Regions from separate parts of the Homo sapiens genome. Here region 1 is linked to region 2. The links are contacts of gene promoters, found by promoter capture Hi-C in human tissues and cell types (Jung and others, 2019). All regions are on one chromosome and are shown on one strand. The core of a region is centred on a gene start or on the middle of the fragment in contact, and the rest is flanking DNA. Distances in the headings are between cores, read along the strand shown. Region 1 overlaps IFT88 (intraflagellar transport 88). Region 2 holds the start of IFT88 (intraflagellar transport 88).

The links. The method cuts DNA at HindIII sites, captures the fragments that hold promoters and counts their contacts. A contact is called where the count stands out against the background at its distance.
Region 1: a contact is called between a fragment that was not itself captured here and the fragment with the promoter of IFT88 in region 2, in 2 of the 25 tissues and cell types used here (hippocampus and mesenchymal stem cells).

What each region holds. Positions count from the first base shown.
Region 1 is chr13:20,611,388-20,614,107 of GRCh38, forward strand. The region is part of intron 13 of IFT88 (intraflagellar transport 88); the gene reads left to right. It also overlaps the pseudogene RNU2-7P. Among named protein-coding and RNA genes, the nearest start is that of IFT88, 46 kb to the left of the region's middle. The HindIII fragment of the contact is 6,832 bases long and covers 1-2,720 here.
Region 2 is chr13:20,565,881-20,568,645 of GRCh38, forward strand. IFT88 (intraflagellar transport 88) reads left to right here and starts at 1,277. Exons shown (of 26, transcript NM_006531.5): 1 at 1,277-1,376. It overlaps LOC105370103 (a long non-coding RNA gene), which reads right to left and starts at 1,149. Exons shown (of 6, transcript XR_941725.3): 1 at 796-1,149. RefSeq lists silencers at 977-1,386, 1,482-1,670. The HindIII fragment of the contact is 1,600 bases long and covers 1-1,516 here.

The sequences.
Region 1 (2,720 bases), core at 35-2,534, 46 kb after region 2:
ACATGGTGATATGCACTGTAGTCCCAGTTATTTGGGAGAATTGCTTGAGCCTGGGAGGTGGAGGTTGCAGTGAGCCAAAATTGTGCCACTGCACCCCAGCCTGGGAGACAGAGCATGACCCAGTCTCAAAAAAAAAAAAAAAAAAAAAAAAAAAGACTGAATGCTTTGCACCTAAGATCAGGAACAAGATAGGGATATCCGACTTTTACCAGTTTTTTGTTTTGTTTTGTTTTCTGAGATGGAATCTTGCTCTGTTGCCCAGGCTGGAGTGCAATGGCACAATCTCAGCTCACTGCAACCTCCGCCTCCTGGGTTCGAGCGATTCCCCTGCCTCAGCCTCCTGAGTAGCTGGGACTACAGGCGCCTGCCACCATGCCCGGCTAATTTTTTGTATTTTTAGTAGACATAAGGTTTCACCGTGTTGGCCAGGCTGGTCTTGAACTCCTGACCTCAGGTGATCCACCCACCTTGGCCTCCCAAATTGCTGGGATTACAGGCATGAGCCACCGCACCCGGCCCACTTTCACCAGTTCTGTTCATCATTGAACTGGAAGATTCTATCTTTGGCAGTTTGCAAAACAAATAAACTTAAAACTGGAGTTAAAGACATCCAGATTAGAAAGGAACAGTTTAAACCATCTTTTTTCAGATGACATGATCTTGTACATAGAAAATCCTAAGGAATCAACTTTAAAACTGTTAGAATAAATGAGGTTGTAGAGTAAAAAAAAATCAATATACAAAAATCAATAGTGTAGTGCAGAAATATATTAATATCTTCTCAGCCGTGTGGCTGAGATGAAGTGTAGTATTTGTATATCTGATGCTTCCGCTATCCAAGGACAATCTGTTAAATGGATTTTTGGAGCAGGGAGATTGAATAGGACCTTGCTCCATCTGCTGTATGCATTGACCTGGTAGTGCAGTAACTCCAGGAACTGTGCACCCCCTCAGGAAGAAAAGAAGAAATACACTATACACTACCCATGAATTATCCCAAAAATGAAATTAACATTTATAATTGCATAAAAATTATTAGGAATAAATTTAATGAAAGAAATGCAAAACCTAAACTCTGAAAACCATAAAACATGGGAAGAATATAAAGATACTAAATAAATTATGTCGTATTTTTATGGATAGGCACTTAATGTTATTAAAATGGCAGTGCTCCCCAAATTAATGTACAGATTCAGTGCCACCCTTGTCAAAATTCCAGCAACATTTTTACAGAAAGTGACAAATTGATCCTAAAACTCATATGGAAATGGAAGGGAACCAGAATGGCCCAAACAGTGTTGAAAAAGAAAAGCAAAGTTGGGACTCAAACTAGAAAGCAACATTGATGAAGACACTGTGAAGACAGAGGCATAAATGAATGGAATGGAATTGAGAGACAAGGAAAAAACTCTTACGTTTATAGCCAGTGGAGGTGCCAGGAAAATTTAAGAGAAGAAAGGAGAGTCTTTTCAACAAATTGTGCTGGGAAAAGTGGATATTCTCTTGCAAAAGAATGAAGTTGTACATCTCTTTCACACCATACACAAAAATTAACTAAAATGAACTATAGACCTAAATGTAAGAGCTAAAACTATAAAATTGTTAGAAAAAGAAGAGAAATATCATTGACTGTCGGTTAAGCAAAGGTTTTGTAGATATGACACCAAAAGCACAAGTGACATAAGAAAAAAATAGATAAATTGGACGTTATCAAAATTAAAAACTTATGTACTTCAGAGGACGCTATCCAGAGAGTGAAAAAATGACCTACTGAATGGGAGAAAATATTTGCAAATGATGTATCTGAGAGGGGACTTATTTCTAGACTATATAAGTAATGTCCAACTCAATAATAAAAAGGCCAATAGCCCAATTAAAAATGTGCAAAAGATATGAATAGATATTTCTTCAAAATAGATACACAGATGCCCAATACACACATGAAAAGATGCTGAACTTCAGTAATTGCTAGGGAAATGCAGCTGAAAACTGCAGTGAGATACTACTTCACACCTACTAGTATGCTATAATAAAAAAGAAAATAACAAGTATTGGTAAGAGTGTGGAGAAATTGGAACTCTTAAATGCTGATGGTAGGAGTATAAAATGGTGCTTTGTAAAACAGCATACAAGTGCCCCAAAAGGTTAAGCATAGACTTACCATATAACCCAGCAATTTTACGTCTAGATATTTACCCAAAAGTAATCAGAGTATATGTCCACATGACAACTTGTATACAGATTTTCTTAGTGATATTATTCATAATATCGAAAAATAGAAATAATCCAAATGTGCAACAATTAATGAAGGTATAAATAATATATGGTCTATCCATAATATGGGATGTGATTCAGCCATACAAAGGAATGAAGTACTGATACGTGCTGTTAGGTTGGTGCAAAAGTAATTGCGATTTTTCCCATTGAATGCAATTGCTTTTGCACCAACCAATACAATACAGATGAACCTTGAAAACATGATAAATGAAAGAAGCCAGTCACAAAAGACCACGTTTTATGATTCTGTTTATATGAAAGGTATAAATTAGGCAAATCTATAAAGATTTGCCAGGGAGTGTCTGCTAATGGATATTATGTTTCTTTTTGGGATGATGAAAATGTTTCAAAAGTGATTGTGGTGCTTGTTGCACAAATCTGTGACTATACCTAAACCATTGCATTGTAGACTTTATATTGGGTGAGCTGTATGGTATATGAGT
Region 2 (2,765 bases), core at 27-2,526:
CGGGAAAGTGCAGGTGACCCATGGAGAATTGTCCCCCAACACTATGTTTTTTCTTTTTTTGGATGGAGTTTCGCTCTTGTCACCCAGGCTGGAGTGCAATACCACCATCTTGGCTCACTGCAACCTCTACCTCCTGGGTTCAAGAGATTCTCCTGCCTTAGCCTCCTGAGTAGCTGGGATTTATTACAGGCGCCTGCCACCTCGCCGGGCTAATTTTTGTATTTTTAGTAGAGACAGGGTTTCACCACGTTGGCCAGGCTGGTCTCCAACTCCTCACCTCAGGTGATCCGCCAGCCTCAGCCTCCCAAAGTGCTGGGATTATAGGCATGAGCCACTGCGCCCGGCCAACACTACTTATTTTATAAAAACTCATTAATTACTGGTGTCTTTAGACTCCCTCTGTCCCTCCCCTCCATCCCCAACATTTACTTTTAAAATTTAAGACAAAACTTAAACATTAAACAATTATGAATTTAATTCCCCCATTTATATTACATTGATTAAGCTTTACACTATGACCCAGGTTCTAGGTGGTTGGGACACAATGGTTCAATCCCTGTCTAGTAAATAAAACGGACACCTTAAGCGCTACAATCAAGGTGCGCACGGGGTGCTACAGAACAATACGCAGACAGGAGGAGGTGGGGGGAAAGGTGAGACTTCCCAGGCAGGTGTCATCCCAGAATAACTTTTACACAGGGTGACTAAGCGAGTTAGTGACTGCGCGGAAAACGGGCTTCCAAGGTTCACAAGGCTCGTGCTGCGGCTCCGGGAGTTATGTCACAGTAAGCTTACTATCATCCTTTGGGCATCTGCTTTACGGATGAGTTCATCAGGATTTAAAGGATCTTGGTTCCATATCCTTCCCCTTCCTCACAGAGGCCGCCAGCCCGGAGCCCCTCTAGGCCCTCCTCCCTCCTGCATCTACTGGCCGCGAGCCTTTCCCTCCCCGCCCCCTTCACACAGGCCGCCCCCAGCCTCCCAACCCCCCGGTTCCGTTCCACGGGAGGCCCCGGCCTCCCTGCCCTCTCCTCCACCGTTCTACCCGCATCGCCCGGCTTCCCGCAAGCCGCTGGCACCGTCCCCTCAACACCCTCCGCCCACCGCCACTCCCTTCCACTGAGGGGGACCGGGCTGCCTTCTCTCTGACCCGCCGTTCTCCGCCCCCACCCACTTCCCCAGGCCTCCCGCACCACCCCCTTCCCGCCGCGCTCTCTCCCGCCCCCGCGCTTCCGGCCCCGCCCGCCCCCGCGCGGAGGACTGTGGGAGCGGCTTCCTTGGATTCCGCGCTTGGCAACGGCTCGGCGTCGCGCTTTGGCCAACCGCTGCGTCGTCCCTGGGCCCGAATAACTGTCGCCCGCTTCCCTCAGCGTGAGGTAGGAGAAGGGCGCTGGGGCCTAGTGCCTCAGGGCCCCTGGCAGCCGTGCCCCTGCGGCGTCCTGTGTGGCGCATCCCGCCGAGGGCCTCTTCGCCCGTCTCCTGCCCGCCCCTGTCGGCCCCGGGGCGGTCTGAGGCGGGGCCCCAGATGGACTCGGCCTGCCCCTGCTTTTCTTCCTCAGGCTCCCGAGTTGTCTACTCAGAAACGCGGGCGTTGTTTCTCACATCGGTGTCCCCAGCTCACAGGCTTTTCTTGCTCCTCTGAACTGGGACGGGCGTCGCTGACCGCTTGGCGATGTCCCAAGTCCCAGTCACGCCTGACGGGGAAACTTAAAACCCAGTTAGATTACTGCGCCAGCTCTGGAATCGCACAGCAGAGATGGTGCACATCGCTCTTTAATTTTCTTGTTAGGTGAAGCACTTCAAATTGCCTGATGAAAGTTGAATCAGGAATGAAGATAAAAGTACACAACAATGCAGAAAGCGGTACTTAGCCTCACAAAGATGGAAACATTCCAAAAACGTGAAGTACTGTTGTCCCAAGATTCTTTCTAAGCCTAAAATTACACTTTTACTAGTCCGATTTTCTGGTTGTGAGTTTTTTTTGTTTGTTTTTTTTTTTTCGAGAAACTGCAGTAGGCTTCTTGGAAGTAGACCAAGGGTGTCCAATCTTTGGCTTCCCTGGGCCACATCGGAAGAAGAATTGTCTTGGGCCACACATGAAATTCACAAACACTAAGGTAGCCGATGAGCTTTAAAAAAAATCGCAAAAAAGAATCTCATAATGCTTCCAGAAAGTTTACGAATTTGTGTTGGGCCACATTCAAAGCCGTCCTGTGCCACGTGCGGGCCGGGGTTGGAAAAGCTTGAAGTAGACTGTCCATAGTCAGTAGAAGAGTATTAAAAAACATACCTTTCACTTAAAAAAAAAAAAGGTTTTGCCAGCATTTGATTTATATTAAACATAGGTGGCATCATCCCCAGATTATTTCAACATGGAAAAGTTTGTTACATGTATAAGCTGCTTTGGAAATTGCCTGGAGAATCCAGAAACCCTGGGTTGTATAACAACAGTTGTTCTGCCACCCATAGCTATTAGCCATGCTTGATTCCCTTCAACTTTCCTGGCCTCACTTTCCACATCTTTTAATATTTGTATGTTCCACAAGATGTCTATTCAACTAAAGTCTCAAGTCAAACCTTTTAAAAATCTGGTTACAACCTAGCAGAAAGGATTTCTCATTCTAAAAGTTGCTTCCTTCTATAACTTATGTGTCAACTAAGCTGACTTAAATAGGGTTCATAATCAGAAATTATGGTTCAGAATAGTGGTTCTCAAAGTGGTCCCCAGACCAGTAGCCTCAGCATCACTTGGGTTTAAGAACCAC